Regions from separate parts of the Homo sapiens genome. Here all the other regions are linked to region 2. Evidence: promoter capture Hi-C in 16 types of primary human blood cells and fetal thymus (Javierre and others, 2016). All regions are on one chromosome and are shown on one strand. The core of a region is centred on a gene start or on the middle of the fragment in contact, and the rest is flanking DNA. Distances in the headings are between cores, read along the strand shown. Region 1 has its middle 330 kb from the start of FSTL5. Region 2 holds the start of TMA16 (translation machinery associated 16 homolog). Region 3 has its middle 26 kb from the start of SMIM31. Region 4 overlaps SMIM31 (small integral membrane protein 31).

Evidence for each region. The method cuts DNA at HindIII sites, captures the fragments that hold promoters and counts their contacts. A CHiCAGO score of 5 or more calls a contact.
Region 1: a contact is called between a fragment that was not itself captured here and the fragment with the promoter of TMA16 in region 2, in 1 of 17 cell types (M2 macrophages). The highest score is 5.2, in M2 macrophages.
Region 3: a fragment that was not itself captured here is called in contact with the fragment with the promoter of TMA16 in region 2 in 8 of 17 cell types (naive B cells, naive CD8 T cells, total B cells and 5 more); the score reaches 14.9 in naive B cells.
Region 4: a contact is called between a fragment that was not itself captured here and the fragment with the promoter of TMA16 in region 2, in 1 of 17 cell types (endothelial precursors). The highest score is 6.2, in endothelial precursors.

The regions. Positions count from the first base shown.
Region 1 is chr4:162,492,799-162,495,498 of GRCh38, forward strand. No RefSeq gene overlaps it. Among named protein-coding and RNA genes, the nearest start is that of FSTL5, 330 kb to the left of the region's middle. The HindIII fragment of the contact is 9,946 bases long and covers 1-2,700 here.
Region 2 is chr4:163,493,332-163,496,031 of GRCh38, forward strand. It overlaps TMA16 (translation machinery associated 16 homolog), which reads left to right and starts at 1,359. Exons shown (of 7, transcript NM_018352.3): 1 at 1,359-1,473. The coding sequence starts at 1,471. LOC124900805 (a long non-coding RNA gene) reads right to left here and starts at 1,893. Exons shown (of 2, transcript XR_007058354.1): 1 at 1,831-1,893; 2 at 1-1,565. RefSeq lists enhancers at 1,250-2,152, 1,616-1,755, 1,786-1,935. The HindIII fragment of the contact is 17,381 bases long and covers 1-2,700 here.
Region 3 is chr4:164,726,392-164,729,097 of GRCh38, forward strand. It overlaps the pseudogene CHORDC1P3. Among named protein-coding and RNA genes, the nearest start is that of SMIM31, 26 kb to the right of the region's middle. RefSeq lists an enhancer at 1,244-1,413. The HindIII fragment of the contact is 5,791 bases long and covers 1-2,706 here.
Region 4 is chr4:164,764,255-164,766,954 of GRCh38, forward strand. The region is part of intron 1 of SMIM31 (small integral membrane protein 31); the gene reads left to right. Among named protein-coding and RNA genes, the nearest start is that of SMIM31, 11 kb to the left of the region's middle. The HindIII fragment of the contact is 3,677 bases long and covers 1-2,700 here.

The sequences.
Region 1 (2,700 bases), core at 95-2,594, 1.0 Mb before region 2:
TTCAACCTGAGGTGGTCTCAGATGGGGTTGAGGAACTTGTTGGGAACTAAAGTAAAGGTCACTCTTGCTATGTAAAGATGCTGGCAGAATTTTGCTCCTGGCCTAGAGATCTGTGGAACTTTGAACTTGAGAGAGATGATTTGGGGTACCTGGTGGAATAAATTTCTAAGTGGCAAAGCATTTGAGAGGTGATAGATCATAAAAGTTTGGAAAATTTGCAGCCTGACAATGCAGTAAAAAAGAAAAAAAAACATTTTTTAGGAAGAAATTCAAGCATGTTGCCAAAATTTGCATAAGTAACGAGCAGTCAAATGCTAATCACCAAGGTAACAGGGAAAACATCTCCAGGTTGTGTCAGAGACCTTTGTGGCAGCCCCTTTCATCACAGGCCTGAAGGCCTAAGAGGGAGAAATGGTTTCATGGGCTCAGCCCAGGGCCCCCCTGCTTTATGCAGCCTCCAAACACGGTGCCCTGCATCCCAGCCTGCTTCAGCTCCCAGCCATGAATAAAAGGGGCCAACATACAGCTCAGGCTATTGACTCAGAGGGTGCAAGCCCCAAGCCTTGGTGGGTTATGTGTGGTGTTGGGCCTTTGGGTGCACAGAAGTCAAGAATGGAGGTTTGGGAACCTCCACCCAGATTTCAGAGTATATATGGAAACACTTGGATGTCCAGGCAGACGTTTGCTGCAGGGGTGGGGCTTTCATGGAGAACCTCTGCTAGGGCAGTATAGAAGGGAAATGTGGATGGAAGCCCCCAAACAGATTCCCAACTGGGGCACTGCCTAGCAGAGCTGTGAGAGGAGGTCACCAACCTCTAGACTCCAGAATGGTAGATCCATTGACAGCTTGAACCATCTGCCTGGAAAAGCCACAGACACTCAACACTAGCCCATGAAAGCAGCCAGGAGGGGAGTGATACCCTGCAAAGCCACAGGGGTGGAGCTTCTCAAGGCCATGGGAGTCTATCTCTTCCATCAGCGTGACCTGGATGTGAGAAATGGAGTCAAAGGAAATCACGTTGGAACTTTAAGGTTTAATGACTGCCTTAATGGATTTTGAAGTTGCATGGGCCCTGTAGCCCCTTTGTTTTGGCCAATTTCTCCCATACGGAATGGCTGTATTTACCCAATGTCTGTACTCCCACTGTATCTGGGAAGTAAGTTACTGGTTTTTTGTTTTGTTTTGTTTTGTTTTTTACAGGCTCATAGGTGGAAGAAACTTGCTTTGTCTCAGATGAAACTTTGGACTTGGACTTCTGAGTAAATTTGGAATGAATTAAGACTTTGGGGGACTGTTGGGAAGGCATTATTGTGTTTCTGAAATGTGAGGACATAAAATTTGGGAGGGGCCGCAGTTGAATGATATGATTTGGTTGTGTTCTCACCCAAATCTCATGTTGAATTGTAGCTCCCATAATACCTACATATCGTGAGAGGGACCTGGTAGGAGGTAATTGAATCATGGGGGTGGGTCTTTCAGTGCTGTTCTTATGGTAGTGAATAAGTCTCATGAGATATGGTGGTGTTGTAAGGGACAGTTGCCTTGCACATACCCTCTTGTCTGTTTCCATGTAAGATGCTTGGCCGGGCACGGTGGCTCACATCTGTAATCCCAGCACTTTGGGAGGCCGAGGTGGGCAGATCACGAGGCCAGGAGATTGATAGCATCCTGGCTAACATGGTGCAACCCCAGCTCTCCTAAAAATCCAAAAAAAAAAAAAATTATCCGGACGTGGTGGCAGGCACCTTTAGTCCCAGCTACTTGGGAGGCTGAGGCAGGAGAATGGCATGAACCTGGGAGGCAGAGCTTGCAGTGAGCAGAGATCGCACCACTGCACCCCAGCGCTGGTGACAGAGCGAGACTCCATCTCAAAAAAAAAAAAAAAAAAGATGCTCCTCATTCACCTTCAGCCATCATTGTGAGGCCTCCCCAGCCATGTGGAACTGTGAGTCAATTAAACCTCTTTCCTTTATAAATGACCCAGTCTTGTGTATGTATATATTAGCAGCATGAGAACAGACTAATACATATATATAAATGTATAAAGAAATAATACATATATAATATACATATATTGTATATTACATATATTGTCATTCTATATTACATACTATATAGCATATATATTATATATAAAATATGTGTGTATTGTATATGTGTATATATACATATAATAGAATATTATTTAGCCTTTACAAAGAAGGAGATCCTGCCATTTATGACAACCTGGATGATCCAGGAAGACATTGTGCTAGATGAAATAAGCCAGAAATGGAAGGAAAACTACTTCCTGATCTCATTTGCATGTGGACTCCATAAAAGTTGGACTCACGGAAGCAAAGTAAAAAGGTGGTTAGCAGGGGACGGGAGGAAAGGGAAATGGGGCAGTGTTTGTCAAGGGTACAAGGTTGCAGTTATGTAGGACAAATAAGTCTAGATATGTAAGGTGCAGTGTGATGACTGCAATTAATAATACTGTATTGCATATTGAAATTTGCTAAGGAGTAGATTTTAGTTGCTCCCACCACACACACACACGCGCGCACACACACACACACACACACACACACACACATACACGTTAACTGTGTGAGGAGATGGATATGTTAATGTGCTTGACTGTAGTAATCATGTCTTTATAAAATAATTTTTAATAAGAAAAATCTCCATTCAAATTGTCTTTCTTTTTTTTAGAGATG
Region 2 (2,700 bases), core at 109-2,608:
CTGCTTTCGCTGCCTTGCTTTATTTGTGTGTTTTGTCCAATTATTTGTTCAAAACGCCAAGGACCTAGCCAACTACCCTCAACTGTTAACAGCTGCACACACATATCAAGGCACACCAGCTTCACCCTGCCTGGAGCTTCTTCCCATGCCTAGTTTTCTCTTACAATTCCGGTCTCTGCTCAATTATCACTTCTAAAAGAGGACTTTATAGAGACCACCATGTGTAAAACAGCTTTTCTACATGCCCCCGCCAGCTAATTTTTATTAGAGTACTTATATTATTTGAAATAATATTTTTACATGCCTCCATCCCCTGGAAAATGAGCTGAGTGAGGGATATTGTTGGAGTATCCCCAGTACCAGGCACACAGTAGGCATTCAATAAATAGTTTTTGAATGATTACATTGTCTACGGAATTCTAACATGTATGGGTGAAACAAAGACTCTCACATGCTGTGAGAAGAAAACAAAAACTGGGTTGGCAGAGGCCTTGAATATGAGGAAGTGGCCTTTCCGGATAAAGAAACTAAGACTCGGCCGGGCGTGGTGGCTCAGGCCTGTAATCTCAGCACTTTGGGAGGCCGAGGCGGACGGATCACCTGAGATCAGGAGTTCGAGACCAGCCTGGCCAACACGGCGAAACCCCGTCTCTACTAAAAATACAAAAAAAAAAAAAAAAAAAAAAAATTAGCCGGGCGTGGTGGCGGAGGCCTGTAATTCCAGCTGTTCGGGAGGCTGAGGCAGGAGAATCGCTTGAACCCGGGAGGAAGAAAGAAAGAGGGAATGAGGGAAGGCGGGAAAGAGGGAAAGAAGAAAAGAAAAGAAAGGAAAGAGAAGAGGGGCGGGGCGGGGCAGGGCAGGGCAGGGCAGGGCAGGGCAAAAAAAGACTCAGTGCAGGAAAGGACTTGCCCAAGGTAATCTAGTACGTGGAAAAGCGGAGGGCAGGAGCCTGTGCCGTGCAAGAGCTCCGGGGAGCCAACACCGAGCGGCCCTTTTGAGAGGGTCCCAGCCCCTGAGATGCGGGAGCCCGCAAGAGGGAACCTCTTGTCTGAAGAGGTTGCTGCGCTCTGGAGTCGTGCTCTGGGACAGATGGGCAAGCTCCGCTCTTGGGGCCGGAAGCGTGTAGCGTCTCCACCCGGGCTCCAATCCCCAGCCTCGCACTCAGCACCAGGCAGAGTTCAGCCTCCCGCCGCAAGCTCCCTTCCGCCGCTCCCGGCGAGCACGCAGGTCTGGCTGTCCGTTGGGCTAGAGCTTAAAAGCCCAACACGGGCGAAAAAGACGCGGTCTCAGTTAACGGGGACGCTTTAGAGAAACGCACTCGCCTCTCCTGTTCCGGTTGGGTCGGCGCGGGCTTCTCAGGCGCCACGTGGGATTCGGCCCGGGTGCTCTTGTGAGCTGCTGCTCCTGCGGTTGGTGAGATTACCTGGGTCTAGAGTGCGGAGCTGCTCCGTGGCCACGAGGACGTCACCATGGTGGGCCCCCTCCTGCTCCCCCGAACCGCTCGGTTGGTTCCCCGGAAGGCTCTTGTTGAGCAGGCAGAGAGGGAGGGTGCGGTTTCGGGAACCTAGGAGAGGGGAGGATGCAAAGTGTTTATTTTCAGGGAGTGTGCGGGGTGCGGGGCGAAGCCTCTGGGAGGCGAGTCCCAGGCCCAACGCCTGGACCTTAGAGTTCCGCGTCCGAGTGCTGAAGTGCTCACACGTCGCCTTGCTCCTCTTTGCCTTGTGCCTAACTTCTCGCTAGTCACTACTTCCTGGGGGAAACCCGGCACCTTTCCATTGTAACGCATCGAGGAGTTTGGCAAAACTTCTGAGATCGCTGGCCCTACACACCTCTGCCTCTCTGGCCTGGGTAGACTCAGTATGTGGGCTTAGTCGCCTCTTCCTCGGCGTCCGTTCACCTCTCGTTAGTGCCCTGAATCCTGCCGTTACGCCCCCATTCGCTCCAGGGCACTGAAGCAGTTTTGTTGTTTTTATTAAAAACTGAGTAGATACAAAAGAGTGTTACTAAAGCACATTTCAAGTGTAAAGATGAACAGTTTCAGGAATTCTCGTTTACCCATTTTGTAGTTTTAAGAAATAAAACATAGCCTTTGAAAGCCCTGTGTTACCTTCTTTGAACTTTCAGGAAACCTTAAGAAGCAAACATTATCTAAGTTTTGTATTTATAATTTCACTACTTTTCTTTATAGTTACTACATATATTTGTATTTTGAAACAGTATGTTGTTTCTTGCCTATTTTTTACGTAATCGTTGTGTTCTTGAGAGTAATTCTTGCATAGAAACATGCTTTATAAATTTTTTTCAATTAATTTTTAATAAAAGCAAAATTTTAAAAGTTTATAATCTGGTCAGAAGTTACGATATTGTGTCCACAATGTGGCCTCTTTGTTTCTTTTCATTTTTTTCTCTTTTCATTGTATGCCATTTTTGTCTTACAGTCTGGTTCTTTCGTTGTTTCGCGAGTTTTTTGTGCTTTATTTTGATCCACTGCTGACGCATATTTTGTACTTTAGATTGTACACATTTGTGTAAATTCAGTGTTTGCTTGTCACTTTGCTTGTGGGATTTCCAACTCTTTATAGTGTTAGTTTTTTTCCCCTTTTCAGAGTGGAATATGAAAGCAATTACATCTCATTGTGTTTGAGTGATTGGGGAGATAGATTGGTATTTGACTGTAGTTGTCCTTGACTATCAGAGCT
Region 3 (2,706 bases), core at 87-2,586, 1.2 Mb after region 2:
AATCACTTGAACCTGGGAAGCAGAGGTTGCAGTAACCGAGGTTGCACCACTGTACTCCAGCCTGGGCAACAGAGCAAGACTCTGTCTCAACAACAACATCAACAACAAAACCAACGCATTGTATTTGAAGAAGAGAAGAAATTTCATCAAAATGCAAAATTATGGATTGTGATTGTTGAAAAGTGAAGTTAGGTAGCTATGACTGCAATGCAGACAGAGAGCACAGTAAGAATAGCTGGTCCTATGCAATAGGCACACCTTGAATTGCCTGCAACCAAAAGGCAAGAAAAACAAACAGAAGATACAACAGATTGAGTGACTGAGCTATTGCTTATTTCAGAATTCTTAATAATGTGTGGCAAAGTGGTATCTTGCTGCTGTAATCTTTTGTTTTGTTGTGTTGTTGAATCTGGCATTTCAGGATCAACATCAGGTTCTTAAAAGCCAAAGTCAGTTCACCTTTTTGTGCCTCCCATCGTTCTTTTGAGTTATGTAAGATAGATTATTCATTTCTCCTCGCTGATAGAACCATAGTTGTGTCCTATACTTGGAGAAGCTGGAAAATAGCTCACCAACATAATTGCAGTATTTCTTAGTATAATATTATGTTAGGCAGAAAAACATTAAGGAACATTTGTTTTTGTCACATCTCTATTATCTCATAATTAGTAAGGCAAGATGAAATGTCAATTTTTAATCCTTTTTTATGGATTTGTATTCCTATAATATATGAAAATCTCTGAGGAAGAGATGAAGCTCTGCATTATTTTTTCTATGTGGGAGGGTTTTTATAGGAGGATTAATTCTGAGGTAGTATAGTAGGTGGTTAAAGGGAAATACATGCACTTATTAACAAATCAGAGTTTGTTTACAACTAATTGAATTTAAAAATTATATCAATACTTATATCGCTTGCCAAGCAGTATGATTTAAGAGTATAGGAAACAAATAAGAGTACAAAGGTATCAATTTGGTTAAAATTTACCATTTTATAAGACTAAGAAATAATGTAGAAAAAAACTCTTTCCTAATTAAGTGTCTTTCGGTGGTGTTATGGCAAAACTGTAACTTTTTACAGCCTAACCTCTTGTAAAGCCTTTAATTAGTTACATGTAAAAAAAATTATCTACCTCTGGCTTATTGGATGGAAAACTATATCTATAAAATTGTAGACTTAAAGGTTCATGGAAATACATTAGGGTATCAAAAAGTGAAATGTATGAACTTTATGACAACTATGATATATTCAATAAAATAGCTTAATTGTTTTTTAAAAAAGGATTTTAATAGGGTTTGAGGTAAAACTCATGCCACTGCTAACTGATGAAGGTCGTATTCCATAAAAACCCTCCATCCTTTTTCTTATTGATGGATGGCTCCAAAAAATTCTGTCCCTCCACTTTCACTCATGTATTGTGTCCTCTGTGAGCAGCCATATTTGTTAAAGCTGAAATGTCATGATGATGGATCACAACCAGACCCTCTATTTGGGGCTAGATACCTGAGCCAATCTGTCATTATGTGCAAATTATCTTCTTGCTGGATCTGGAGAGATAAATAAGATGCAATTGCACATGGTTCTATATCCTGTTTTAACTAAACGAACGTATGGCCCAATAAGAATAGGGGTCAGACATCATGGGACTCAATGGAGCCTGTGATTCTGGAAGTAAGCCAGCTAAGGCCCCTCTGAGCCTGCTCCTGCTTTCCTCTGGATTTTTGTATGCACAATGATACCTAAAAAACACTGAACACCGTTTGACTTAAATTCTATTTCATATTTGTTCACGTCATGCTTGAACTCTTAGCCTGGTCCTTATCTCTTCAAATTTGCCCGCATCTAACTCCAAAGATGATTCTTTGAGTTCATTTCAGACAATACCATTTTAGTCTCCAGCAGGAGCCCTGGGGAAACTCACCATGTCTAATTTATCTTCAGTGAATATCAAATCATATTCACCACATAAAAGTTAGGATGGCTTTATCAGTTTTATTAAAGCTGTAAATTTTCCTTTTAAAACCTGCCAAAGCCTATGCTTCTAGAATCCTCTAACAACAAATTAACTTTTTTTCCCTTCTTTCTCTGCTTAGTCCTTCAGCCAGTCTGACCAATGGGATACTCCCCATAGAGCATGTGTGAAAATTGTCCTGTAATTCAAGACAGCAGAGTGGTATTTCTGTTTTTCTACCTGGATTCACACTTGGCGCAGTGCTGTAGCTCAGAAAGAAAAACTGCACATCTAAGAACCACAGTTCCAGGCAAGGTGTTGGAGGCTTTGGTCTTACAGACATGAAAAAGCTGCTTTGAACCGCTTGACGTTTTCTACTCAGGAACCCCAAACTTGTGCCTACTGTTCTCGCTCCTTGTTAAGGCCTCCTTCTAAAGCCTCTGAGTAACATGATCTCAGCCCTCCCGAGCCTAGAGCCTAGATTCCCCCATTGCCTCACTCCTCCCACTGCCCTCACTATGCCTTGTGGGAGCCTCTCCAGGGGACACTATCTCCTGAATGCAGAATGTACCTTCACATCTTTCAACTTTTGCTCTGAATATCCCATCCGACTACATTCTCTTTGTCTTCTTTATCATCTGTTGAAATCCTATAGATCTTTTAGGGACCAGGCTGAATTCACAGGCTTCATTCTCCTCCAATGCATCTAATCACCTTTCCTCCTTTCTCCATACCTTTTAACACTTTGCATCCCTTT
Region 4 (2,700 bases), core at 2-2,501, 1.3 Mb after region 2:
GGCAGACCATTGAGTTAAAATGTGGTGGGTGTGGCAGGGCACAGTAGCTCACACCTGTAACCTCAGCACTTTGGGAGGCCGAGGCGGGCAGATCATGAGGTCAAGAGATCAAGACCATCCTGGCCAACATGGTGAAATCCTGTCTCTACTAAAAATACAAAAATTAGCTGAGCGTGGTGGCGTGTGCCTGTAGTCCCAGCTACTCGGGAGGCTGAGGCAGGAGAATTGCTCGAACCTGGGAGGCGGAGGTTGCAGTGAGCCAAGATCGCGCCACTGCACTACAGCCTGGCGACAGAGCGAGACTCCATCTCAAAAAAAAAAAAAGAAAAAAATAGAAAAAAATGTGGTGGGTGCTGTTGTTGCCTTACTGGAATCCAGTCAACCTAATTCAAAATATTGCCTTCAGCTTGGTTACTCCACTTTAGAGGGATTTGGAAGTAAAGGAGAGAAATCAAAAGGGACAAAGGACACAGAATTATGTCATAAGAAGAATATTTGTCTAGACAAAGGAAAGAAAGCCCAGGCAACATGACAAATTCCTGGTCTTCAAATATTTGAGGATCCCTCTCATAAAAGGAGAACTTTTTAGTTCTGTATTTAGGAATCACATGGTAATAGTTAAAAAGAACAGAATTTTAGCTGATATAGAGTTTTCTAAAGAGCAGGGTTATCCAGAGATTAAACAGATTGCCTCCAATGACAGTGAGTTCCTCATCACTAGAGGAATTCAGGCTGGCCATCTATTTCACCAAAACAGTTTAGGGAAAATTCAATCATTGTATGGTGTCTGGACAAGGTGATTTTTGATTTTCTTTCCAAACCTGAAATTTTATTTGGAGGAAAGTTCTCAAGGACAAGATGGCTTTTTGTTCAGAGTTTGACCAGAAGAAGACTTGAGACATGGAGTTGCCCAAAGAAACAGAGGAAGGCAACATGATAGAGGATCCATCCAAAAAGAAAGATTGAGAAAATCAAAGAGACATGTAGCAGGTTGAAATGTCAAGTAGGAACAGCATTGACAGGAGCTGGGACACATCATTTGTCATTCAGCAAGCGTGATTTGCCAAGTACTTGGTGTCAGGGAGTAAATAAGAAAAACAGTTTTCTGCCTGTATGAGCCTTCAAGGTGAATACATAATTCAGAAACCATATGCAGAGACTAATGAGCGTTGTTGGCATTTCACAGATGGACGGGATAATTCAAGGCTTTGTTTAGTAGACAGGATTTACACCATGACAGAACCACCCTCCTACAGATAAAACGGAAAAAAGTGCCACTGGTTTCAGATTATTTAAATTAGATAAGCATTCAATGCAGCAGGTGAGTCTTGTTCAGAATTTTTAAAGAAGGAAGGGATACTTTGTCTCAGAAAAAAAAAAAAAAAAAAGGCAGATAAATCCAGGAAGCAACAGAAGTGGCATGCACGTTGGTTAGTAGCCTTTAGACTTTTTCCACAAGGCCTTTGAAGGCAAGGGGGGAGTGGGCACTGCAGTATCTCACAGATTTTTTTCAGCCCATAGTTTTCTAATGTAGCAGGCTATAAGAATTCAAAACACTAAATTCCCACTGCCCAGAAAAGTGCATTTACTTCCTGTAAATAAGCCCTTTATTTTTACTCTGGCAGATTTTTCTTTAGATGAAGGCAGTCATTTTACCTAGTCCCCTTGGCCCTTGATGCATGCACACAGCATCTACAATAGGAAGGAGACTCAATAAGAAGAGCATGTTCCATGCTGTCCCCGAGCAATCATAACAGCACTCAAGGGAGCCGCGAGAGAATGAACGGATGGTGCACAAAGAGAGCAGTGAGCTCTGTCAGCAGCCATGAGACAGAAAAATAAAGTAACAAAGGAAAAGAAACACATCTCCCCCGTGAGGGCAATAACAGCAGCAAGAAAAACCATCAATCCCAACCATGCTGCCTGTTTTATGGAAACCTTAAAGCCATTTTCAAAATATACTTCTTGTCCTCTGGGTGGGATTTTCTCAAGTAATAGAGTGCTTGATGCCGCTGAGATTTCCAAATACATCTTCAATCCAGAGTTTCCATTCACAGCTGTGAAATTCAGAGTTTTGCATCAACTTGCCTTCTTCGGTGCTGCTTGCATCCACTCGTTTATGGTCACTCAGTGAATACTTATGGGAAAATGTACTATATGCCCGTCATTTTTCTAAGCCCTATAGGTACGGAGATAAACAAAGCAGACTGCTTTCATAGAACTTTAATGGGGAAAGACAGACAAACAATAACAAAAAAATGTAGCCAGGCACGGTGGCTCACGTCTGTAATCCCAGCACTTTGGGAGGCTGAGGCAGGCGGATCACGAGGTCAGGAAATTGAGATCATCCTGGCCAACATGGTGAAACCCCATCTCTACTAAAAATACAAAAAATTAGCCAGGCGTGGTGGCACACACCTGTAGTCCCAGCTACTCGGGGGACTGAGGCAGGAGAATCGCTTGAACCCGGGAAGCGGAGGTTGTAGTGAGCTGAGATCGTGCCACTGCACTCCAGCCTGGTGACAGAGTGAGACTCCATCTCAAAAAAAAAAAAAAGAAGAAAAATGCAATGGAGAATAGCTGTGATGAAAATAAAACTGCTGAGAACTTGGCTTAGATTAGAAGTCAAGAAATGCCTCTGTGGGGAGGTGGTGCTTGAACTGAAGAGAAGACACAGAGAAAGTAGACAATGAGAATGTA